6 separate regions of the Homo sapiens genome follow, and regions 2, 3, 4, 5 and 6 are each linked to region 1. Evidence: promoter capture Hi-C in human tissues and cell types (Jung and others, 2019). All regions are on one chromosome and are shown on one strand. Each heading gives the region's core, a stretch centred on a gene start or on the middle of the fragment in contact. The rest is flanking DNA. Distances are from core to core; before and after follow the strand shown. Region 1 holds the start of RASD1 (ras related dexamethasone induced 1). Region 2 overlaps DRC3 (dynein regulatory complex subunit 3). Region 3 overlaps TOM1L2 (target of myb1 like 2 membrane trafficking protein). Region 4 overlaps TOM1L2 (target of myb1 like 2 membrane trafficking protein). Region 5 holds the start of SREBF1 (sterol regulatory element binding transcription factor 1). Region 6 overlaps TOM1L2 (target of myb1 like 2 membrane trafficking protein).

Region 1 (4,372 bases), core at 99-2,598:
CCTGGGGCGCACCGGGCCGTTGGATTTGACTTAACAAAAAGGTCCTCCTTAGGTTGTGTCGCCAGCGCGGCGGGGCTCCTAGCTGATGACGCAGCGCTCCTTGTCCTTGGCCTGGCTGCCGGCGCTGGCCTTCTCGCGGATGTACATGAGGTCGCTGTGTACGCTGGGCCGGCGCGCGAAGGGTGCCACGATGCCAAAGGCGTCGCCCGGGTCGCCGCCGCCGCCGCCGCTGCCGGCCCGCAGCAGCTTCTTGTTCCGCAGCGCCTTCTTGTGCAGCACGTCGCAGTACTGCACCGAGACCTTGCGGTGCAGGTCTGGGCTCATCTCGCTGGGCAGCTTGGCCATGGCGAAGAGCGCGCGGAACATCTGGTCCAGGCTGCTGTTCTTCTTGGCCGAGATCTCGAAGTAGGCGCAGCGCTGGGGGTCGTCGCCCACCAGCTGCTCGATCTCGCGCTGGTCCACCTCGCGGTAGAAGTCGCGGTCACCCTTGTTGCCGCAGATGACCAGGGGCACGTCCACGTTCTCCTTGGTTTTGTTCTTGAGGCAAGACTTGGTGTCGAGGATCTGCTGCCTGAGCCGCTGCACCTCCTCGAAGGAGTCGCGGTTGTCCAGACTGAACACCAGGATGAAAACGTCTCCTAGAGGGGGCACAGAGAGCAGAAAAGGAGAAGGTGAGGGTGGCCGCCCAGGGGACAAGTCGGGCTGACTTTGAGGCCGCGCGGGGCGCGCTAGCCTCTCTAAGCGCGAAGCGCACTACTCGGCGCGCGGCAGCCGGACCGGCGCTCGCGGGGCGCCCTGGCCGAGGGTTCCCCGCCCTTCCCTCCCGCACCTGCCCGGCCCCCGGCTCACCTGTGAGGATGGAGAGGCGCCGCATGGCGGGGAACGGGTGGTTGCCGGACGTGTCGAGGATGTCGAGCTGGTAGACCTCGCCGCGGATGGAGTAGAACTTGCGGTGGAAGTCCTCGATGGTAGGCGTGTAGGCGTCCTCGAAGCGGCCGGTGAGGAAGCGCGACACGATGGCCGTCTTGCCCACCTTGGACGAGCCGAGGATGACCATGCGATAGCAGTTCTTGGCCGGGATACTCAGCTCCGAGTCGCTCGGGCACATCTTCTTGATCATCGCGGCCAGTTTCATTGGGCAGAGGGGCCGCGAGGGCGGGCGCGGGGCCGAGAGAAGGGCAGAGAGCGGCTGAGGGTCGCTGGGGTGGCACGCGGGGTGAGCGGCTGGAGGGCTCTGCTCGGGCTGGGCGCGGCTCGGGCTTGGGGCTCCGGCTCCGCTCGGGCTGGGCTCGGGCTAGGCTGGGCTCGGCTGGGGTTCTCCCAGGATCTGGGCACAGGCCGCTTGCTCTGGCTTTGGCGCCCGGCCGCCGCCCTTATATGCAGCCTGCTCGGCTGCCCCGCCCCGGCCCTCCCAGCTCGGTGCGTCACGCCCCGCGGGGCCCGCCTCCCCCGCACCGGCTCCCAGTCCCGGCGACCTCGTCACCCGCTGCCGGGCTCCTGCTCTCTGGGCGCGGGGGCTGGGGGGAGCAGTCCAGGGTCGGGCTGAGGCTGGAGGCGCTCGGACTCCGCTTTTCCACTGCCGCGGGCTCGGCGGCCGCAGGGGCGTCGGGGTTCTGGTCCCGGCGGTGCCCCTGTCCCTCTGCGACTTCGGGCAAGGACCCCCATTCCTGCACCTCCCGCGCGCGTACACTTATTTTCTTTGGTTCTCAGTTTCCCCAGAGAATAGGAATCTAGTAAGTAACCCAGTAAGCGCAGCAGCGTTTGCTGAGTGCTTGCGCGGACCGTATATTGCAGTCCTCAGAGCACAGCCCCAGCCCCAGCCCCCTTCCGCTCCGGTCCCCAGCCGGGCTCTTGTTCCCGGGAGGCGACCGCCGGGCGGACGCGGGGTTTCAGGGCCTCAGGCGCGGAGCTCGGCACCGCGCGCTCGGGCCGCCAGAGGGCAGCAGAGGGCCCGGCCGGCGGCTCGGGGAGGCTGTGGCCGCCGCGGGCAGAGCTAGAACAGAGGCTAGGAGCAGGCGGGTGGGGAGCGGCAGGGATGGAGCAGGGGTCTCAGGGCGCCTTGCTGGGGCCCAACAGGAGCGGTCCCCAACCCCGCGCTCTGCTGCAGGCCTCAGCCTGCTCCTTTCTCCCAGCCAGAGATGCTCTGTGGTATGGAGGGCTCTGCAGCCAGCGGCCCACCCCGTCCATCATAGCATTTTGGGCTTTTACTGTGCCGCGCGTGGGCCGACGTTCTCATTGTCTAGCTGAGAGACCTGGAGCTCAAAGCCACAGCGAGCCAGGAAGGCCCTGGGAGCACAGCACAGCCTCTTGCTTTCTCCTGGGCCTCAGTTTTCTCTTCTGGAAGATACTGATTCTGGTTCTGTGATTAAGGATGAAAATATGCAAATGCTTTAGGAGGGCGGGGCCTGGTAATAACAATAGCAACAATAACAGTAGTATTGACCCATGAGGCCTGGTGGGGGTACTCTCAAGAGCACACCAGGTCGATCAGTAACCAGGAGTGGGGTGATGTTGCTGAACATTGGCAACAGGCTGTCTGGAGCCAGCTCCTCAGCCCTGAGCTCTTGAGGCAGTCACTGCTCCTCAAGGCAACCTGTGTGCTCAGTGTTTTGCTTTGGCCACGTCTGACTTACGAGAAAACTAGGGAGCCATTAGCTGGCACCACCGGCCCAGCTGTCAGGTGGTGGTCTGCAGGCAGTGCTGTGAGTGCCATACCACCCACCCCATGCCTACCCACCTCCCTCCCACGCTGGCACTTGCTGTAGGGGCTGCTGCAGGACACCACTAACTTGTTTCTCAGCCCAGCTTGGCCCCCATCCTCAGAGTCCCTGCATCTCTCCCAGGCCTCACTCTTACTGTCAGATATTTCAAATGCACGCATCACACAGTGAGCATCCAAGGGCTCATCAGTGGCCCTGGCCTGGCTCTGATTCCTGGTGTCACTTATGCAGCAGTTATCCGACAGGCTAGCTGGGGCTGGAGCCCCGCCATTCTTGGTTCCTGCCCCCATCTGAGGTATGTCTGCCAGAGTCTGGGAGAAGGGGAGAAGGAACTGAGTCGCAGCCCTGGATATAGGGCTGCAGTGGTGCAGGGTGTTCACTGCATAAAGGAGCCAGTTGAGGGTACATGGGGGGGCTCAGTTAAGGTACGGACCTGAACCACCTTCAGACTGAGCACCGCCTTCCTGTGCCTCCCACAGCGGCACTGCATGGGCAGCCGGGCTCTAACTTGGGATGACTGATGGCCAGGGCTATAGTGAAGGTGGACCCCACACAGCCATTGCCTCCTGGGGCTCTAGTCCCAAGAGGGTCCATTTGATATGAGTGGAGGGCCCGAGGGTCAAGGATCACAGCCCAGCTCTCCCCTGGTCAGTGTCCAGGCTGGCCCCTTAAATCAGGAACATGACACTGGCAGGCACTGATCTAGCCTGTGTCCTCAGCCACAGTGATTCCTGGTACCATCTGTGCATGGCCGTCTGCCCTACGGATGCTGGGTTGTGAAGACCCAGGCCCACCTGCCATTCCCATTCTGAATGCCCCAGAGCGCCTCCTGTCAAGGAGGTGGCCTCTGGGACTTTACTCCTCAAGCAGCAAGCCAACTTCCTTGTTTCCGCCCTCGTCTTTTCTTTTAAAAGGGCATCTCTTTCCTTTTATTACAAAAGTAATAAATGCTCATGGTTTTTTAAAAACCCAAGCCATTTCAGAAAGGACCAGAATGAAAGAAGCACTGGGATCAGGCCTCTCTCGGCCACACCCAGGACAGCCTAGCCACCAATTCTGTGGGGTGGCATCTCCTGATGTCCCCACATGGGCGGACTCCCAACTGCATGAAGGAAGTCTTACCCCGGTGCAGCCTCTGCCACCCAGCTCTTTGTTCATGCAGGTGCCCTTTTTCCTTCTTCTGGGGTTTGCCTGTGTGACTTTATGCCAGGCCCTACCCTAGGCTGGCTAATCAGAGTGGCCGGGGAGGACTGGGGGCTGGAAGACAAACAGGAACAACTCGCAACTCACAGAACCATCCGCCCCGTGGATCCCGGAGTCCCACAGAGAGGGAGCACGTGTACTGGGCTTCCCAGCACTCCCGCCGCCTGGGCCCTGTCAGCCATCGCGGCATTTGATGTCCAGGTTGATCACAGTCCCATGCTGTATGCAATAAATAATTCTGTTTTCTGTGTGTTTGGGGCATGAGACAACAAACAGCGTATATGAGGCTATGAGCCTGTCTGTAAATAGTATTTACCTGCAGTGCAGCAATTTTGCTGCTTAGAGGGGAGGGGAACTGTTTAAAATATTTGACAATGTCGGGGGTGATCTGGGGGTGGGCAGGTGGACCCACCCCCCCCCCACCAGCCCCAGGCAGGAAATGCCAGCCA
Region 2 (4,463 bases), core at 546-3,045, 490 kb after region 1:
AAAGCCTAGGGCTTGTGCTGGGCAAAGTGCAGCAAAGATGTGCTCAGACACAAGACCACAGAATATTCTGCTCTCATCTGCCCAAACTTTCAGTCTGGATGGGGTACAAAGGGGCAGCTGTGGACTCCTATTTAATCTAGACTCAGGCTGACAGATAACCATCGACAGGTAACCATTGGCTGGTGGGACCCAGATGAAACCAGGAATAATCGTCACAGAGGCTAGTGTGTATCAAGCACTTAACTACATGCTAAGTGGGGCCTATATGCTTTCCATATGGGTCTTTCAGTTCACACAGCATCCCCGTCATAGAGATGAGCAAACTGAGGTCACCACACCACATCAGGTCTCACTGCCAAGGCCATGGAGGGTTTTGATGAGATGTTCCTTCTGCTGGCCTCTTAGGAGCATCCTCACATCTGGTGAGGGGCAATGGGTCCCTAGCAGGGAGAAGGTGATGGGCCTGAGAGCTCCTTATGCCCTGTCTTGTTTAACCCCCATTTTAATCCTAAGAGTTGGGCATCTGTTATAATCCCAATCTACAGAAGAGGAGCTGAGACTCAGGGAGCCCCAGGCACTTGCCCAAAGCTGCACGACCAAGAAGTATCAGAGCTGGGACTCACCCCCACGCCTGTCTGACCTCACAGCCCACATTCCCTCCATCCTATTAGGCGGTCTTCTGGTAATAAGGGCACCCTGGGGCATCGTGAGCCTTCCAATTTGCCAAACACTCCCATCCTCCTTTGTGCTGACAATTGCAAGCCCATAGCAAACCCACAGGCAGGGTTATGCTGCCATTTCACACATGCAGCAACTGAGGCTCAGGGAGGCTGACCAGCTTGATGGAGTCATGTGCTACAGGTAGCAGGAGCAAACCACAGCCAGGTCCTCTCACACCTGGGCCCAGGTCTCTTGTCCCAGGTTTCTCATTTCTCTGCACTCTAGCACCCATTAATGCTGATTCATGAATGCCATGGTTTTAAGCAGGAGCTCTCTGGCCTGGCTGTCTCTCAGACATAAAGCAAGTACCACTGAGCCCCATGACAGCTCCCTCTTTCTGTCTGCTTACCCAGAGAGAAACCTGAATACTGGTCTTGGTTCCCTCCCTAACAGAAGCTTATTTTCCTACTACTTGGAGCCCCTGCACACACACTTCCTAGTCAGCTCATTCCCCCAACCCCTTGCAGTGGCCATCCACGCTTCCAAGGGTCATTGGACTGATGGCCAGTGCTCCCTGGGATGGGGGTGCTAGAGCAGTGAGGGCAGGCTCTGTTAAGAGGTCACACTGCCCCTCAGAGTATAGGCAGAAGCTGGTCTTTGTCCAGCCATGGCACTAGGTGCCCAGGGACCCAACCACAGCCAGAAGAGCTGGATCCCTGGGGTGCTGAGGATGGGGGTTAGGGAGGTGGCACTCCCATGGTTCAGCACGACCTCCCACACTGACATGCACAGGGCTGAGGATGTGCTGGAGCTGGCTAGCCCTGGCTCTCAACAGCTGGCTATACACATTTCTTCCCAACTTTGCTTCCAGGGATGCCACGCTGGTAGCTTGAAATTGGCCACGGTGGGAGTATTTACACCACAGAAATGAGCAAGCACCTCAAATCAGGGGTTTTCCTCAGCCCCCATTGGTAAACACTTGCTAGCACACCACTAGGGGGTAGGCTAAGCCTCCCAAGAACAGAACCCAGTGGCACGGTGGGAAAGGAAGTGTGCAGGCCTGGCATTTGTTAGACCCCCATTCAAACCCCAGCTTGGCCAACATACTGACTTTGCACAAGATATTCCACTCTGTGAACCTCAGTTTCTTTTTTTTGAGATGGAGTCTCATTCTGTCACCCAGGCTGGAGTGCAGTGGCACAATCTCAGCTCACTATAACCTCTGCCTCCCAGGTTCAAGTGATTCTCATGCCTCAGCCTCCCAAGTAGCTGGGATTACAGGTATGTGCCACCATGGGTGGCTAATTTTTGTATTTTTAGTAGAAACAGGGTTTTGCCATGTTGACCAGGCTGATCTCGAACTGCTGGCCTCAAGCAATCCACCCGCCTCAGCCTCGCAAAGTGCCGGGATTATAGGCGTGAGCCACTGCACCTGGCCCGAACCTCGATTCCTTTATGTGCTGTGCTACCTTGAGCATATTACCATGAGGCCCATTTGAATCTCAGTTTCCTCATCTATAAAATGGGGATGATGCTATCTGTGCTATGAGGATTAAACAAGGTAATGCACTTAAAGGGCCTGGCATAGAGAAAGGACAGAGTTATCATTGGTCTCAATGTCAACAGGTGAGCATCCCCTGATATGCGGAGGAGGCTATATTAAGATGTGGTTAAACTCATCTCCCAAATCACCTTTTTTTTTTTTTTTTTTTTGGACACAAAGCTTCACTTCATCACCTAGGCTGGAGTGCAGTGGCACAATCTCGGCTCACTCCACCTCCAAGGTTCAAGTGGTTCTCGTGCCTCAGCCTCCTGAGTAGCTGGGATTACAGGCATGTGCCACCATGCCCAGATAATTTTTGTATTTTTAGTAGAGACAGGGTTTTGCCAGGTTGGCCAGGCTGGTCTGGAACTCCTGACCCCCAAGTGATCCCCCCGCCTCGGCCTCCCAGAGTGCTGGGATTACAGGTGTAAGCCACTACGCCCAGCCCCAAATCACCTTTTAAATGTGATCACCCTGTGGTTATCATGCTCATATTTCCAAGCCCAGGAAAAATGCTCATTTTTGGCCTCTAGGCCATTGGTGTTCCAGGACAAGATAACAGCCCCACCTGCCAGGTAACCCTGAAAACCTGTAGTGGGGAAAAAGTACTTTTAGGCCGGACATGGTGGCTCACACCTGTAATCCCCACTTTGGGAGGCCGAGGTGGGAGGATCACTTGAGCCCAGGAGTTTGAGACTAGCCTGGGCAATATGGTAAGAGCCTGTCTCTATACAAACCTTTTTAAAAAGTTAGCTGGATGTGATGGCGTATACCTGTGGTCCAGTCTACTCAGGAGGCTGAAGCAGGAGGATCACTTGAACCCAGGAGGTCAAGGATGCAATGAACCGTGATTGCGCCACTGCACTCCAGTCTGCACAACAGAGCGAGACCCTGTCTCAAAAAAAAAAAAAAAAAAAAAAAAAGGAAGGTACTTTTATTCCCAAAGATGTGGAATTAGTCAAAAGTCTCGGTTGGGGTTGAGGGAGCCTGAGACAGCTGTGATGGAGCTGGAGGAACCTGACCTGCCACATGTCCAGGGAGAAGCCTTAGATGAACTCTGGCCCCACTGTGGTTAGCTGTGTGGCTTTGGGCAAATCACTGAGTCTCTCTGAGCTTCTGCTTCCCAAATGATAAAACAGCAAGAGAAATTCCAAACTACCACTCAGGGCTGCTGTCAGAGGATATACACGAGTGCTTGATAAACTGGTAAATGCAAAGCACACAGGAGGTGGTCTTGCTAAAATGCCACAGGTGTGAGGAAAGGGGACACTCCACCGCTGTCTACCCCGACCCCCAAGGGCACTGCTTCAGACCTGCGGGTTAGTATTTTCCTCCCAGAACTATGGCAGAGCATAGACACCAGTATTTGCCCACATGTCCCCAGCCAGGAGGATGATTGGCGGAACTGGAGAGGGTAGTGAATATTGGAGGCTGCAGGAAATAATTCACACCTGGCTTCTAAAAAAATCACAAACTATTAGACAGTGAGTCAAATTCTGGCCCTGGCAGCTTGGTGCTGGCTCACAGGGCACTCAGTAGCCCTGATGGTTTTATTTCAGGACAGCCCATCCCCTGACCCAGGCAGCAGACCCTCACAGCCCTCTCTTCTTCCCAGATCTGTCTTTCAACAACATTGAGACCATCGAGGGGCTGGACACACTGGTGAACCTGGAGGACCTGAGCTTGTTCAACAACCGGATCTCCAAGATCGACTCCCTGGACGCCCTCGTCAAGCTGCAGGTGTTGTCGCTGGGCAACAACCGGATTGACAACATGATGAACGTGAGTGGCCGCCCAGCCCGCCCTCACGCACACCTGCAGAGCCTTGGAGCGCCGTGGGTTGAGTGGGGGTCTGTGGCTAGGGGAAGTACAGGCTGAGTGTTCAGATCTTCTCATTTTCCTGGAAAAGCCAGGAATCTGGATTACTCCATGAGGGATTTGCTCATGTTTAAATACCATGCTTACCCAACAAAATTCATCGGAGAGCACTAGTTTACAACCTCCACATTAGTGGCGGTTCTTTCCCTGTGTCTTGCACTTATTTAACAAACATTTGCTGAGGTACATACCTGTTAGTGTTGGGCGTATGTCCTGTGCTCACTGGGAACAGAGACAGACGAGATGTGGTCCCTTTGGAGTGACCAGCACACACCCCCATAGTCAAGGCACAAGGAGACAAGAAGCCGGTGTCCTGAGGAACAATAAAACAAGGCCTATGGGTGGTAGGAGGGCACCCTGAGGCTTAGGGGTGTGCACAAGT
Region 3 (4,019 bases), core at 1,071-3,570, 410 kb after region 1:
CAGTCCCAGCTGGGTGCTCTGGCTCACGCCTGTAATCCCAGCACTTTAGAAGCCCAAGGCAGGTGGGAGGTCAGGAGTTCAAGACCAGCCTGGCCAACATGGTGAAACCCTGTCTCTACTAAAAATACAAAATTAGCCGGGCGTGGTGGTACACACCTATAATCCCAGCTACTCAGGAGGCTGAGGCAGGAGAATTGCTTGAGCCTGGGAGGCGGTGGTTGTGGTGAGCTGAGATCACACCATTGCACTCCAGCCTGGGCGACAAGAGCAAAACTCCACCTCAAAAATAAATAAATAAATAAAAACAGTCCCAGGTAGGTTATTCAGTCAGCCACTCCTGGTTAATGCCTGAAGGACTGTCATCAAGGCCTTAGGCATCAGCATTCCTCAGGCTGATGGTGACCTCAGCTCTGGACATTAGGGAAAGCCCAAGGAGAGGCCTTTCGGGCAGTTTACCAATCTGCACCCACCAGGACCACAGCCTCCCATTGGTAAAGTATTGCACAAATACAAGAAGTGCAGGCAGCACTTCAGTGGCTGCGGCCAGGTGAGCCTGTGCTTGCATCCTGCATGTGCCCTTCCAAGCTGTGCTGCAAGGCCTTTGGCAAGTGACCAAACTACTCAGCCTCAGTTTCCTTAACACTGAAACAGGCTGTCACTACCATATAGAACTGTTGGGGGTAGGGGGCGCTGCTTGTGATGATGCACTGCAGGGCTGGACACAGGGCCTGCAGGGCGTGGCACATGCCAAGTGCTCACAGACAGCAGACAGGGTAAGGGCAGTGAATCCACCAAGATAGTCACCAAGACTGGGCAGATAACTGACACCCAAATGAAAGTGATGACAAAAGTCATGGGCAATGGAAATCTTTAAAGTGAAATAGTACATCCACATAGATATAGTATGGATATGAAGATACAGTTATGTAGCCAGATACATCATATATATTTACTCCTTTAATCCTTGTAACAACCCTATGAGATAGGTATTATTGGCAACCCCATTTTATAAGTGAGGAAATGGGACACAGACACAGGGAGATGAAGTAACTCACACAGGCTCGCACAATAAGCGAGTGGTGACCTAGAATTGCTCCAGCCTGTGGTGTCCACCTTCCTCCCCTTCATCCACCTGCCTCATCTGGCTGATACCCTGGCACTCTGTAAGACTCCAGTCTGGTGTCACTTCCTCCAAGAAGGCTTTGCTGCCAAAAGTCCCAAGGCTGACCACTGCCACTGCACTAGTCTCCGTAGCTATATATAGCTTCTCTCTCTCTCCCTGCCCCCCACCCAGCACTCGTTATGCATATGTTTATATGCCTGCATTCCTCATCAGACTGTGAGTACCTTAGAGACTTCATTCATTTATTCACTTATTTAACAAATATTTATTAACAGCTAATCAAATGCATTGTGCTAGGTGCTAGGGACAAAATGTTGAGTAATTGGCTGGGCGCGGTGGCTCACGCCTGTAATCCCAGCACTTTGGGAGGCTGAGGCGGGCGGATCACGAGGTAAGGGGATCGAGACCATGGTGAAACTCCGTCTCTACTAAAAATACAAAAAAAATTAGCTGGGCGTGGTGGCGGGCGCCTGTAGTCCCAGCTACTCAGGAGGCTGAGGCAGGAGAATGGCATGAACCCGGGAGGCGGAGCTTGCAGTGAGCCGAGATCGCGCCACTGCACTCCAGCCTGGGCGACAGAGCGAGACTCCATCTCAAAAAAAAAAAAAAAAAATGTTGGGTAAAACAGATGGAAATCCTGTCCTCATGGAGATCACAGCCTTGCGGGGGTTGCAGGGCAAGACAGACACTAACAACCGTCCCACAGATCTGTAAGTTTAAACTGTGATGAGCATCAGTACAACACGGGTTATGAAATCATATAACAGAGGACTTGTCCAAATCAGGAGGGGAAGGGGTTAGGGAAATGAGATTCAAACTGAGAGATCCAGTGAATGACGGGATCTACTTAGTGAAAGAGGTGACGAGAACAGAAGGGACAGCAGGTCAGAGGCCTTCAGGGAGGGCACAAAGGGGTGGGTGGGGTGCCCTACTGTCAGTCCAACTTGTGGGAGTTTCTTTCACTCAGGAAGAGATTATTATTATTATTATTATTTTTAAGATATGGGGTCTCACTACATTTCCTAGGCTGGTCTCAAACACCTAGGCTCAAGCAATCCTCCTGCCTCAGCCTTCTGAATAGGTGGGACTACAGGCATGAGCCACTGCACCTTGCTAGGAAGAGATTTTGAGACACCTCACAGCAGAGGCAACAAGAAAACATTCTCAGGAATCACTGAGGTGCTCTCACTCAAAAAGGTAGCAACAGGAGCTTTAGCCACTTGAAGAGAAAGATGTGTGTGACCAGCCTTCTGGGAATTGAGGATTTGAAAAAGAAGGCATTGGCCCCTTCAGAATAAGGAAGCTCCTGGGGTTCCTGGGCTTCCTGCCCTCAAGCCATAGAGATATTTGAGCAATTCACTGGAAAATAAGAGTTGCCAACATATTTGTATATTGCTCAAATCTGTAGAGAATTTCAAGCTGGGCCCAGGAATATGGAAAATTCAAGGAGCTGAAAGATCAGCAGGGTTGAAGAGCTCAAAGTGGAGCTGCCGAGGGGTCTGGGGCTCCTCATGAGGGGCCTGGTTGGGGTTTTTAACCTAAGTGCCTGCGAAACCCCTGAAGGCTTGTTAGCAAGGGAGCAACTTGGTCGTTGTGCAGCAGGAAGGGGTAGGAGGGAAGGGGTCGAAGCAGAGGTCCACCTCTAGGGTAAAGTGCAGACACCAGAGAATGCAGCACCTGACCTTGACTACCTTTCCAGCCGGATTCCAGACCCTCCCGCTCCCCCAATGTCACCCTGTCTATCCTAGACAGCTTGTATCCCTTGACACACTGGCCCTTTTGATGCCACCCTTGGCTACGGGACACATTTCTCCTGCCATCCTGGAAGACAGCCCCTCCAGGAAGCATTGATACCCACCTTTCCCTCTGGGACCATGGCATCAGGGACAGGCCTTGGCCACAGCCCTTGCCAGTCCTGCCAGGTGAGCGTTCAAGGGCAGGCTGGAACATTCACCTTGGCATCCCGTAGCTGCTATACCTCCACCCCTGGGGGTCAGTAAACATGGCCAGATGACTGGACAAACAAGTGAATGAGTGGCATGTTAGGAGGACGTGAGGAAGGTAGCCACTCGGAGCCCAGTGACGATGGGATTAGAGATGTGTAGTCCCTAACAACTATTTGTGAGTCACGTCTGTGTACCAGGCACCAAGCTGATCACCTATATTTAGCTGGTGAAAATATGCCACCTTTCACCAAAGACTCCCACGTTTTCATCCAGTGCAGGCCACTGCCCCCAACTCAAGTTCCCTGTGCAGTTCCCTGTCACATCTTCCAGGAGCCTGGCTGGCAGCAAAGATCTACTGCTGATCTCTGCTCCCCAGCCTGCTCCACCTCAGGAAACAGCAGCTCCATCCCATGGTTGTTCAGGCCCCAAACCTTGCAATTTCCCTTAACTCTTCATTCCTGTCTTATGTCAGCCAATTCCATTGGCTCTACCATCTAACACATTCAGAATCCCATCACTTCTAATCATCATCTCACACCAGTATTACTGTGATAACCTCCTCACTGGGTTTTCTTTCTTCTTTTTTCTTTTTAGAGACAGGGTCTTACTCTGTCGCCCAGGCTAGAATGCAGTGACACCGTCCTGGTTCATCACAGCCTCGAACTCCTAGGCGTAAGCAATCTTCCTGCCTCAGCCTCGTACAGTGCTGGGATTGCAGGTGCACGCCACTATGCCAGGCCATCGCTGGGTTTTCTGCATTGTCCTTGGCCTGCCCCCAGTCAGGCCACTCTGAACACAGTAGACTGAGTGATCTCTTTCCAATAAGAGTGGGACCACACCACTCCTCTGCTTGAATCTCCAAAAAGGTTGAAGCCAGAGTTGCTCTGGTTCTACATGGCCCTGTGTTATCTGGGTCCCCAGTATGTCGGTAACTTCCTCTCCAGGTACTC
Region 4 (4,203 bases), core at 470-2,969, 390 kb after region 1:
CTGAGCGTGAACAAAAACACAAAACTTAATTTAGCATGTATTTCCTTGGAGAAGAGACAGAGAAATAACACCTATGCACGGTGGTGCATCCTAAAAAGCAGGAATTTCCCTAATGGCAAGGAAATCAATTGCTGGGGCTGTTCAGCTGCAGGGAGTGGAAGCTGGAGCCTTGTCAGCTCAGCAGGGTGCCTGCCCTCTGTGCGGGAGCACCTCTGCCCTGAAAGCTTCTACTGGTGGAGTTGGGAACCGGCAACAAATTGAGCAGAAAGGAAAGGAGAAATTGATGTGTGACATGAAGTAAAGGCTAACTACAGGTTTCCTCAGATCAGAGACAACTAATGCTGAGCTTGTCTAGCCTAGCTCTGTCTAGCGCTGCTGCCAGTAGGTGAGATGACTGTGGTTCAAGGGAAGAAGAGCCCATTGGGAGCTAGACCCAGGCCAGACTGGGGAGTTCACCCCCAGGGGTCCTTTTCCCAGACCCAAGCTTCTTTCATGATGTCCGCTGCCAAAAATGTCAGCACATGTGTGCCCAAATCGAAAAATCCCAAGAAAAGCACAATCACCAGATTCCCTTCAGTGAAAACATATCACAGAGAGGAAAGAGCAAAAATTCAAGTAGATTATCATTTCTGTTGACTCATGAAACTTAAAAATTAAAAAAAAAATTCTGGGCTGGGTGCGGTGGCTCATGCCTGTAATCCCAGCACTTTGAGAGGCCGAGGCGGACGGATCACGAGGTCAGGAGATCAAGACCATCCTGGCTAACACAGTGAAACCCCATCTCTACTAAAAATACAAAAAAATTAGCTGGGCGTGGTGGCGGGTGCCTGTAGTCCCAGCTACTCAGGAGGCTGAGGCAGGAGAATGGTGTGAATCCGGGAGGCAGAGCTTGCAGTGAGCTGAGATGGCGCCACTGCACTCCAGCATGGGCGACAGAGCAAGACTCCGTCTCAAAAAAAAAAAAAAAAAAAAAAAAATTCTGTTCTTTGGAAGTCTTGGACTGTATCAAAAACAGAATACTCAAAGGCCTTCCCAGAAATGGCCCTTCTCATGCTGTCCCATTCACCATACATACCCAAAGGAGGAGGCAGAGCCTCCTGTGCCCATGACTCCATTGCCAAGTCTGTCATTGTCACAGAATTTAACTGTCTCCCTCACTCCAGCAATGTGGTACAACCAATCCTGAGGCAGCCACAGAAACTCTGTCTCTAACCAACAGACCCATTTGAAGTTAAAAGGTCAGTTTCCAAAAAGCCTCCTTAATTATGACTGATGCATCTCACCAGGAACAGTACTGTCAGCCCGGCTTTCCCTGATGCACTTATTTAATTTGCATGCTCAGGGATTTAAAACTACTGGATCAGGACAGCCCCTCTTGGCCAACACTCCTTCTGGATTCTGAGGAGGGCCAAAGAAAGTGCCTCACAGAGCACTGTCTGGAAGGCCCAGCTGGAGGAGAGTAGGTTGCCCGTAGGGAGTGCCTCTGGCCCCGCCCCCACCAGCTGCGCTGGCTGCCTCCACCTGGTTCAAAATCCAGCTAAGTCCTGTGACGCCAACCTCAAAATGCCCTAGCATTTTAGTTTAGGGTGTTGACTTTAGGGTCTAAAAACCAGTTTCACAGCCCACTGTCGGAGGCTGGGGAAAAAACACATGGCAGTTCTTCCTGGCACCACTTCATGCCTTTGTACATGGAGTACCAACAGCTCCAGGGATTCCTTTCAATTCATCTAGCTCTCTACCCAAGCCAAATTTGAGATAATAGGAATAAAGATGAAAGAACTATGGCTCTTCTCTCCAGTTGGAGGATACTTCTTCGGGTCCACTTTCTAAGGCACTCTGCTTCCATGTTCACAGAGACAGACTGGAGTGGGAGGGAAATGCACACCCAAGTTGGGCCAATCAGATGCTCCTCCTTCCAGGAACTCAGCAGCACTAGAAGCTGGGATGTTCTCACTGGGTAGGCAGAACTGTCCTCTGTAACTCCAGGGCCATGTGCCAGCACAGGACTGGAAGCAGAGACAGCCTATGTTCTCCAGAAGGAGCAGCTAGAGTGCTCGGAGGTGCAGGCGTACAGGAGAGGATTTGGAAGGCCTTCCTGATATTTTCTGTCCCTTCCCAGGGCGGGGTGACCTGGACTTCTGGGAGACTCTGCCCTGTCATGACAAACTCTTCTCTTTGCCTAGGCAAGCTGGAGTTGGCATCTGTTATTTGCGATCAAGTAGTCTTGGCTAATCTACCCGCTTCCTACCTGCCACAATTCCAACCCTTATCTGGGACCTCTGTGCAGACTGGATGAGATGGCTGCTAACAGAGCAGATATTCATGATGGCAATCTCTATTGAATAGGATTCTCATGCCAACAGAGGAAAAAATGGGGTGCAGGGGCGCCTCTGAATAAATGCAGCTCTGGGTGTCTCTCATCTCTGGGTGTCTCCCATTCATATGTGAAAACGTACAGATGGGAGACATCCAGAGATGCCATGTGTCCCTAGCATCTTCTTGGGACATGCCTCAATAATTGGGCATGGGTCAGAGCTGTCCCCCAGGCTGGAGTACAATGGTGGTGCCATCTCAGCTCACTGCAACCTCTGCCTCCGGGCTCAAGCAATCCTCCCACTTTAGCCTCCAGAGTAGCTGGGACTATAAGCATGTGCCACCATACCTGGCTAATTTTTGTATTTTTTGTAGAAATGGGGTTTCATCATGTGGCCTAGGCTGGTCTTGAACTCCTGGACTCAAGGGATTCACCCACCTTGGCTTCCCAAAGTGCTGGGATTACAGACATGAGCCAACTGCGCCCAGCCCAGACACCTTTTGAAGGCAGACACCGAGTCTCTCACCCGTGTACAGAGAAGGCAGTCAGTCAACATTTATCAGGTTAAACTGAATTCAGTTCTCACAGTTACTAAGCATCCTTATTTTCCTACTTCAGAGAACAGAGGAAAGATGGCCACTTAGGCTGTCAACAGACTGAAGTGACAGTGACAAAGGAGGGGTGCTGGAAGGCTGACCCAGCTGAGAATACTCCCTAGAGAAGATGTGGCAAGCCTCAGGAGGTCTGGCCACTCTTGGAGTGCTTAACCTGAAGCCTGAGAGCAGCACTGAGGGTGGGGGAGGCTGCCCCCTCTTAAAGCTGCCTTTTCAGAAAGCAAAGTGATGCAGCGGTGTGAGCACACTCTGAGGGCCTGTCACAGGAGCTAGCTGGTTAATGGCCAAGTGGTCAGTTCACTGGAAGCCTTCTTTTCCTGCCTGTGGCTACAAGATTAGGGGCTTGGAAGACCCAGAGGAAGGTCTAATGAGGAGAAAAAAGGAAAGAGATCAATTCAGATCTCCTTCATTCCTTTGGACCGTATACAAAACCCCAGAATAAAACCAGAAACAAACATAAACCATAACCTATTCATTTCTGTATCCCTGAAAGTTTTGACAAAGCTTTGAATCATCAAATTTCAGACCAATAAACCATTGCTGATTTAAACTATGGGCTCTGGGATGCCTTTGGATAGAAGGGAGCTTCTGTCAGCTCCTGCTTATGCCCCAGACCAGACTTCCTATTCCCAGTGACAGGGTCCCCAGGGAGCTGCTGTCCACACAGAATCTGGCCAGAGCCCAGCTACCAGGCTCTGACGTCTTCAAAGAACACACACCTCCAGTTTCTCCTGTCCCCACTCCCATCCCCACCCCAATCAGTTCACTTTCTTCAGTGGAAAGTGCATATGGTTAGACTATTGCTGGGGCATGGGGAGGGGGGCTGGAGAGGCATGACCACACTGAGGTGACTCTGCCAGGATGACTCCATTTCCGCTCCTGAAAACAATTTCAAGGGAAAGGCTCAGGGATGGCATAGAGTGGGAGCATCCTTTTTGTCTTCTCAACAAATGGGACTTAATGTAAGCAAACAAAAAGGGACACAAGCCAAAACACCAGCCAAGGCATGAGGTGAAAACATAGGGGTGAAGCTGAAAGCTGCCGGAAGGGAAGTCTTTGGTGCCCCTGGGGGTAGAAGTGAGTGTCAGCAAGCTACCAACCAGGCTGCACCACTCTCAATGTGTCTTTCCTCCCATCCTCCCAGGGAGACCGGCTCCATCCAGAAAGGCAGATCCTGTGGTGCGGGTAAGCCGACTGAGCCCTCGCACATGTTGGTAAAAAGTACCAGAACCACACTGCTGGGTCTGTCTTTTGGCGGGTTGAGGGGGATGGGGT
Region 5 (4,100 bases), core at 701-3,200, 340 kb after region 1:
TTCTGTTGTCCAACTTGCCCATGAAGGGAGGGTTTGCATCATTTTTCTGGAGGTGGAAACTAAGGTTTAGAGGGTGAGAGGGCTTGAGCAGGATGACAAAGGAAGTGAGGAGTGTCCAGGTTCAAGTTCTGACCCCAAAGCGCATGTCCTCCTGGCTTGGTCACGTTGCCTCTTGGGACTACACTCACTGGGCCCAGTGATGTGGAACTGGTAGTTGAGTCAGGCCCAGATCTCCCTAGGGCTTGGGATTTCAGGGTTCATCACTCCAGAGGGCAGTGAAGGACAACCCCTCGTGCCAGGGATAGGGGAGGCTGTTTTGGAAAAGCCTCACAATCAGGGCCTCTCCTCTGGGGTCCTCCCCTAGCCCAGCCCCAGGGGGAAGGAGGGAGGGCTGGGAAGCTTCTGGGGCTGGCAACCAGCTGGGCTCATCTGCAAGGCTGCAGTAGGGCAGGAGTGGTGGTGGCATAGATATATCTGTTTTGCCAACCCCAGGGTGGCCACGGGTTCCATGGACATGTCCATTCAGGCTGTGAGTCTAGGCATCTTGTTCCTGCGACCTTGGCCTCAGTTTCCTCATCAACCAAGTGCAACTTAGCTAGTGCTGCTAAAACTCCTGCACAGAAACCATGCAGGCAATTTGCTAGGGGCTTCCGTTTGCTCTATCTACAAAATGGAAGCAACGGGCCTCCTAATTGGCACTTGGTGCCACCATTGGCCCCAAACCCCTTCTCATCACAGCCAGGGTGATGCTCCAAAGATGGAAGCCGGTGCCACTGTTCTGCTCCGCCCTTTCCCTGGCCGACCAAGTCGGTTTGCGTCCTCCTCCTCCCTGACCTCACTCCTTTGCAAGCCTCTAACTCCTCACACTTAGGCCCTGCCTCGAGGCCTTTGCCCTTCCCTTGCCGTGGCCTGGAAAACATCTTTCCTTGCTGGTCCTGGGGGTGACCCTCAGGTCTCAGCTTAGAAGTCCCTGACCGCTCTACCCAAAGTAGCCACATCCCTGCCCTCCCCCAGCCTCGCTCCACCCAAGGTACAACTAAATACCCGTTTGGTTTCCCGGGAGATTTTTGTGTTCCCTAAAAGAGGGGGTACCCAGGTCTGTCTGTAAACCCTCGGTGCCTAAGACGGGGCCTGGCATTCGGTGGATGTCAGTGAATGAGTGCGGAGGCTGTGCCCGTCGCAGACCGGGAGAACCCGACACGAGGCGGGGGAAGGGCGCGAGGCAGCGCCCATGCGCATGCGCAAGAGCTCCGACGCCGAGCTGAACTCTCGGGCCGGAGGGAATGACCGTGAGTAACCTCGCAATTACGTCACGGCTGGGGCTGGGGCGGAGCTTCGGCGACGCCTGGGTCCCCAGCTTCAGCCGTGGCCATCACAGGGCTGGAGAGTCACCGGTCGGGCGGCACCCGGCCTGGGACGCGTAGAGGCGCACGTGTCCCGGCCCGGAGCCGCCAAGGGACCCCGGCCCGGCCCAGGAGCCCTCACCCACAAGCGCGCGGCCCGAGACGCTAGCGCGGGAACCAGGGAGGCTCGGTGAGGCTCGGGACACCGAGCTCAGAGACACCGGGAAGTCCCGCGCGAGCACAGCACGGAGCTGGCGCCCGTGGGGGAGACAAAGGCCAGGGAGACACCTGCGCGCCCCCTACTCGCGCCACCCGGCGCAGCTTCAAGCCCTGCCCGCCCTGACGCACCTTCGATGTCGGTCAGCAGCGCCGCGTCCAGATCGCACGGCTCGCCCAGCGCCTGCTCCAAAGCCGCCTCGCTGAAGGGTGGCTCGTCCATGGCGCAGCCGCCTCCTCCGGGAGGCCCGCCGGGCCCGCCGCCTCGTACGGCCCTTCCTAGGGAGCGCCGCCGCGGCCCCGGCTCTCAGTCGCCGCCGCCGCTCCGCGCGTTCGTGTCCTGCCCTGGCCTCAGAGGCGGCCCGGCGCCGGCGAAAAGTTCCTCGGAAACTGGGTTCCCCCGGCCGCAGCTCTGCTGGGCGGTCGAGGCGGAGGCGGGGCCTTTCGGGGAGGACCCGCCCTCCCAGATAGACGGCCCCGCCCCACCTTGAGAGAGCGGGGGACCCCTGATCCCCGGTCTGCGCCACAAATCTCCCCTCAGCCGGCCCCTCCTCCAGAGCGCCCTCCAGTCATTCATTTTATCCAGCCTCGCGCACAATGGCAGCGGCCTCTGGCCGGCTGCTGCGGGAACGCGGGCAAGCCGAGCCCCCTCTCTGGGCCTCTGTTTCTCCAGCACCAAGCAAGGAAGCCGAGTGGAAGCCCCAGGCCTGGGCCCATCCCAAACTTCATTTCCTCATTTCCTAGATTTGACTCTTTAGAACAAGACAGACCAGGATCCAAGTTATAGGGGTCCCAGGCCTGCTGTGTTGTGAGCAGGCCTGATGTAACTGCTGGGCCAGTTACATCACTCTGCCTCAATTTTCCTCATTTGTAACATGGGCCTAATGATGCTTTCTCACGGGCAGGCTGGGAGGCTAGTGACAATGTGGAGGGGAGCATGACCTGTGAGATCAGCCTGCCCCCTCTCTGCAAAGAAACCAGAAGATTGGCCTCTTGAGGACAGGAGTGGCCAAAGAAAGAGGCTGGAATTTCGTCATCTGGTTTCCTCCCAGATCCAGCTGTAGGGATAGGATACCAGTGGGCCCAGTGCAGCTCCTGAAGGAGGAAGCCAGTACCCAAGGAAGACTGGCCCCAGGGCTGTCTGACCCCAGATTTGGCACTTATTCCCAGGAGCAGCCAGGATAGGGGCCGCAAGGAAGAGGTAGCTGTGCTTTAGATCAGAGCCAGGCTGCCCTGGATCATCACAAGCTGGGACTAGATCAGAGCAGGCAGCCCTGTTGAGAAGAGGGCTGGAAACCGAACCTGGTTCTGTGGCCTAGGGACAGAGCCAGGTGGGGCAGGAAGGAGGGAAGGGGTCCCAATGAGGTGGGTTGAAATAAACCAGAATTAACATTCAGGAATCTGAATGTGATAAGGCAGTGAGCTCCCTGTCCCCAGAGGTATGCAAGCAGAGAGAAGCACCCTTGGTGGAGGGCAGTCCAGGAAACTCATCAGGGGCCTGGGCCTCAGGCCTTCCCGACCCCAGACCTTCATAAGTCAAGCCATCCTGCAGACTGCCTTGCTCAAACTCCAGATATAGCCTATCTGGCCACGCCCTAAGCAGGAGTAACATTCATGATGCATTTTAGAAGGGGTGTGTGGGGGAGAGAAGCCACAGAGCCCAAGTCCCTGGGGCTCAGCCTGGACATCCAGCTCCCTTTGTTCCTCTCCCAGAAGTGGCTGCGGTGGAAAATTACCCAGAATAGCGGCGCCAGAAGTCATAGGGGTCGCCAAACCACATCTCCCCAAGTAGCCCTGCTCAAGGGTCCACCCAGGACCCACTCCCTCCAGATGAACAACTGCTGGAGAACACAGAGAACAAAGCTGGCTTCTCCTCAGTGCCCCACCCCCACCAACACTCTAGAGGCTGCAGGAAGCTGGTGACTTCCCTGAAAATTTAAACAGCCCTTCCCAGGGAGGGGGTGGGATAGGAAGTGCTGGGTGAAGCCTAAATACCATTTTCTTCAGAGCTAGGCAGGTGATCTGGGTTTTCACCTGCTTGCTGTGTGACCTGGATCCAATACCTCACTTCTGAGTCTCAGCTACTGTATCTATAAAATGGGAATAACCCTTTCTGCAGTCCCTCTGCAGAGGCAGGGAGGGTGTTTTGGAGTCATCATCACAACAGATCTGCCTCACTGTTTTTTGTTTTGTTTTGTTTTGTTTTTTGTTTTGAGACAAAGTCTCTCTCTGTCACCCAGGCTGGAGTGCAGCGGCATGATCTCGGCTCACTGCGACCTCCACCTCCCAGGTTCAAGCAATTCTGTCTCAGCCTCCTGAGTAGCTGGGATTACAGGCGCACGCCACCATGCCAGGCTAATTTTTGTATTTTTAGTAGAGATGAGGTTTCACCATTTTGGCCAGGCTGGTCTTGAACTCCTGACCTTAGGTGATCCACCTACCTCGGCCCCCCCAAAGTGCTGGGATTGCAAGTGTGAGTCACTGCACCTGGCTATCACTGTTTTTGTTGTTGTTGTTGTTGTTGTTGTTGTTGTTTTTAAG
Region 6 (3,917 bases), core at 473-2,972, 430 kb after region 1:
CAATATCTCTCAAAAGGCATTTTATTCTGACCAGGCCTCCCTGCTAACTCTCCCTTGTCCCAAAGGAGGTCACCCAGGGTACCCAGCTAGTTAAGGAGGACCAAACTGAGAGCCAGTCTGGACTGGCACAAGGGGAGATGCGGACATAAATGTACACGTGTTTCACATTCCAAAGCCAAATACAATAGGGTTCTAGATCATCTGGGAAATTACTCCTATTCATCAACATAGAAAGGTCACGAATATCAACAGTGAGAACAAACAGGGAAGATTACATTTAAATGTAACCATATTTGGGCCTGGTGTGATGGATTACACCTGTAATCCCAGCAGTTTTGGAGGCCGAGGCGGGCGGATTGCTTGAGCTCAGGAGTTCAAGACCAGCCAACATGGTGAAACTCCATCTTTACAAAATATACAAAAATTAGCTGGGCCTGGTAGCACACGCCTGTAATCCCAGCTACTTGAGAGGTTGAGGCACAAGAATCGCTTGAACCTGGGAGGCAGAGGTTGCAGTGAGCAAGGATCACACCACTGCACTCCTGTCTGGGCGACAGAGAGGGACTCTGTCTCAAAAAAAAGGAAGAAAGAAAAAGAAAAAGAAATGTAACCATATTTAAATATGAAGAAGAGCCCCAACACAAGCATGTATTCCTGTTTATACAATATTCAGGGCTAACAGACTTATCACACACAGGTTGTGTAACTTATTAATGACAATGTGACTTTAAACAGTAGTTCTAAGTGGGTCACCTTGAATAATACGAAACAAAGCTTGCCAAGGGAAACATGCAAATAAGATCAAAATCCAACAGGGAATAGGCATTTTCCTAGCTTTTCGGATTTTTACTGTAGAAAAATAAACACAGTATCTATCTAGTTTCTTTAGCACTAAAAAAACCAACAGCATGAAACTGCATTCTTCAATGGGGGTGGAGTCCAAAGGGACAGGCCCGACATTATTTTCAGCACACTGTACCAAGTCAAGCTGGTATGTGGATAAAGCAGCACAGCTGGGTTTACCATGTGAGTAACGGGCAGAGAGAACCTACCACCCTATGTGGCGCAAACCACATGAGGCCAGCTGCAGAGGCTGTGGAGAGAGGCCTCTCTTTATCCCTTCTTCTTTCCCTCCATCTCTTTCTGAGGCCAGGACCTGCATGCAGACCTTTCTTGATAAAGAACTCAACCTCAATGTGATACATCAAGGGAAACATTCCCTGAAGAACATGGTGGAGCAAATAAACATTTGGCCTCGTGAGAATGGCCACAGAAAACACTAGGGAATCTTAAACTGTCAGTTGGATGACTAGATATTTTATGATATTAAGGATTATGATTAATTTATTTTAGATATGATAATAAGCTGTTGGCTATACTTTTTTTTTTTTTTTTTGAGACAGGATCTCACTCAGTCACTCAGGCTGGGAATGCAGCGGCACAATCTTGGCTCACTGCAGCCTCAACCTTCCAGGCTCAAGTGAGCCTCCCACCCTCAGCCTCCTGAGTAGCTGGGACTACAGGCATGTGCCACCACACCTGGCTAATTTTTGTATTCGTGGTACAGCCAGGGTTTCACTATGTTACCCAGGCCTCCCAAAGTGTTGGGATTACAGGCATGAACCACCACACCCAGTCAGCTATACTTTTAAAAAGATTCCTTATCTTTTAGAAATGCATACTTAGGTATTCATAGATGAAATTATATGATGTCTGGGATTTACTGAAAAATAATCCAGGATAAAAGTGTGTGGGGCTATGGATGAACCAAAACTGCCATGAATTGATAATTGTAGAAGCTCAATGATGAGTATGTGGGGGTTCATTATAGTCATCTTTTTCCTTTTGTATATGTCTGAAATTTTCTGTAACAACAAAAAAAATCAGTAGGAGACAGCATAAAACCATTCATAACTTTGACCCGGCAATAGCCCCCTAAGGAAATAAATAAGGGGGAAGGGGAGAGCTGATTCTGCAAAGATGCATAATTGAGAAAAACACTGCTGCTCCCAACAAACGAGAAGATGGCTAAGCAACGAGGGTACATCAATAAGGCAAAAACGCTACGTGGCTTTTTAAAATGATAAATACTTCAGCCTAGTCGCTAAGTGGAAATCGGCATAGGAATGCTAAGAGGAAAACAGGCAGGATAAAATATTATGTGCATACTAATCACCACAAGGTAAAAATGCATGCTCACATAATGGAAAGGGTCAAAAGAGAACACAGAAGGCGACACCCTCCCTTTAACACTCAGCTCGTTGCCTCCTCTCAGTGAGGGCCCCAGACGGCCCCCGCGTGAGCATGCACACACGAGATGAATTAATTGCACTCTTCTGGGATCTCACAGTCCTCACTTGCTGAGGCTCATCCAGCCCCTATTGCTTGTCTAATGGTTCCTCATGGACCTGCCTTCCCTGATGCACCATGAATTTTACCAGCACACAGTAGGTATTCAATAATGTGTGTCAAACAGAATAGAACATAAATAGCTGCTGTCTGTGTCTCAGGATTTTTTTTTTCTTTAGAGCTATTCCCACCCACAGTAGCCATTCAGGAAAGGCATTCCTCAGTATCAGAGAACAATGCTTCCATTTCTGATTCACAAAGTGCTTCTGCTACGTGGGTTTATGAAGCCAGCAAGGCAAAACAAAATCAAGCAGACTTTCTGTCTAGATCCTTGCTGGACCACACAGAAAAATCCCATTTTGTTTTGCAAGCTTGTAACAAGTCTCATTGCTATGGTTCCTAATACCAAGTCTGAAGATTCCCCAAGCACTGCTGTGAGAACGGGCCTTTCCTTGGCTACTTAAAAATGCTGCATGGCTGCTCTCTGTGGCTGGCACTATAGTAAAGGGTACAAGCCAGAATGCAGTCGGGACTGTGGCTGCTCAGCAGCGTCAGGCGGGGAAGTCAAGAACTGCCCATCTAGACAGAAGTGGGCAGCAACACAGCCTGGGCCATGCTCCACCCAGTCTGAATGTTTCTCCATCTCTTCTGCTTAGAGCTGCTTTGAGCAGCAGGCTTTGGGTGGGTGAGAGGGGTTGATAGGGATATTCAAGAATGTCAGAGCCTGGGCGTGGTGGCTCACGCCTGTAATCCCAGCACTTTGGGAGGCAGGTGGATCACCTGAGATCGGGAGTTCCAGACCAGCCTGACCAACGTGGAGAAACCCCATCTCTACTAAAAATACAAAATTAGCCAGGCGTGGTGGAATGTGCCTGTAATCCCAGCTACTCAGGAGGCCGAGGCAGGAGAATCGCTTGAACCCGGGAAGCGGAGGTTGTGGTGAGCCGAGATCGCACCATTGTACTCCAGCCTGGGCAACAACAGCAAAAACTCCATCTCAAAAACAAAAAAAAGAATGTCAGGAAGAAATCCATAGACTGTCATTTTTCAGAGCAGTAGTTAACTTTTTGGATAAGATGTTAAAGGAAGAATACATTCCCTTTGAAAATCTGATAAGACCTTTCCAGAGAATTACACACACAATTCTGCACACACTTTCAACAGGTTATTCACCAATCCCTGGCCTCAGTCAGATACCACTTCTGCCCTAGAGCTTTAGCTGTGACTGTTGGTATGAACACTTAGACAAGTTAAACACAACATGAATTTCCACAACAGCAAGGCAGCTGCGATGAGTGAGGTACTACAGAGAGTGAGTGACAGCTCTGTTGGGAGGGCTGTCTCTGTGTCTTTATGAAGACCACTAGCAGAGATACAGAGCCCATGCCTGGGCACACACAGGAAGGCAAGAGCACCATGGTTAAGACACTCCATTCCAAAAACAAAACAAAAAAGACACTCCATTCTAGTTCTTCAGAAATGAGACTGCCAAGCCTGAAGTCCTTAAGGTTATCAGACCATGAGACAGCCTCTTTTTGTTGGACTGGAATGCTGACACTACTCATTAT

The links. Contacts are between HindIII fragments. The study calls those that stand out against the background at their distance.
Region 2: a fragment that was not itself captured here is called in contact with the fragment with the promoter of RASD1 in region 1 in 1 of the 25 tissues and cell types used here (heart right ventricle).
Region 3: a contact is called between a fragment that was not itself captured here and the fragment with the promoter of RASD1 in region 1, in 1 of the 25 tissues and cell types used here (pancreas).
Region 4: a contact is called between a fragment that was not itself captured here and the fragment with the promoter of RASD1 in region 1, in 3 of the 25 tissues and cell types used here (H1 embryonic stem cells, aorta and dorsolateral prefrontal cortex).
Region 5: a contact is called between the fragment with the promoter of SREBF1 here and the fragment with the promoter of RASD1 in region 1, in 1 of the 25 tissues and cell types used here (adrenal gland).
Region 6: a contact is called between a fragment that was not itself captured here and the fragment with the promoter of RASD1 in region 1, in 1 of the 25 tissues and cell types used here (dorsolateral prefrontal cortex).

Annotation. Positions count from the first base shown.
Region 1 is chr17:17,495,047-17,499,418 of GRCh38, forward strand. It overlaps RASD1 (ras related dexamethasone induced 1), which reads right to left and starts at 1,349. Exons shown (of 2, transcript NM_016084.5): 1 at 850-1,349; 2 at 1-638. The coding sequence starts at 1,135. The coding sequence ends at 79. RefSeq lists silencers at 1,280-1,499, 1,660-1,789, 1,840-2,069. The HindIII fragment of the contact is 34,145 bases long and covers 1-4,372 here.
Region 2 is chr17:17,984,114-17,988,576 of GRCh38, forward strand. It overlaps DRC3 (dynein regulatory complex subunit 3), which reads left to right. Exons shown (of 14, transcript NM_031294.4): 5 at 3,819-3,985. It overlaps LOC107984989 (a long non-coding RNA gene), which reads right to left. Exons shown (of 3, transcript XR_001752801.2): 2 at 4,273-4,394. Among named protein-coding and RNA genes, the nearest start is that of DRC3, 13 kb to the left of the region's middle. The HindIII fragment of the contact is 5,475 bases long and covers 1-4,463 here.
Region 3 is chr17:17,901,895-17,905,913 of GRCh38, forward strand. The region is part of intron 2 of TOM1L2 (target of myb1 like 2 membrane trafficking protein); the gene reads right to left. Among named protein-coding and RNA genes, the nearest start is that of SREBF1, 67 kb to the left of the region's middle. The HindIII fragment of the contact is 5,652 bases long and covers 1-4,019 here.
Region 4 is chr17:17,884,973-17,889,175 of GRCh38, forward strand. The region is part of intron 4 of TOM1L2 (target of myb1 like 2 membrane trafficking protein); the gene reads right to left. Among named protein-coding and RNA genes, the nearest start is that of SREBF1, 50 kb to the left of the region's middle. RefSeq lists enhancers at 1-608, 3,837-4,203. The HindIII fragment of the contact is 4,674 bases long and covers 1-4,056 here.
Region 5 is chr17:17,835,036-17,839,135 of GRCh38, forward strand. It overlaps SREBF1 (sterol regulatory element binding transcription factor 1), which reads right to left and starts at 1,951. Exons shown (of 19, transcript NM_004176.5): 1 at 1,692-1,951. The coding sequence starts at 1,782. RefSeq lists enhancers at 826-1,727, 1,728-2,630, 2,631-3,532 and silencers at 1,330-1,609, 1,800-1,959. The HindIII fragment of the contact is 17,140 bases long and covers 1-4,100 here.
Region 6 is chr17:17,926,285-17,930,201 of GRCh38, forward strand. The region is part of intron 1 of TOM1L2 (target of myb1 like 2 membrane trafficking protein); the gene reads right to left. Among named protein-coding and RNA genes, the nearest start is that of TOM1L2, 44 kb to the right of the region's middle. The HindIII fragment of the contact is 3,577 bases long and covers 1-3,511 here.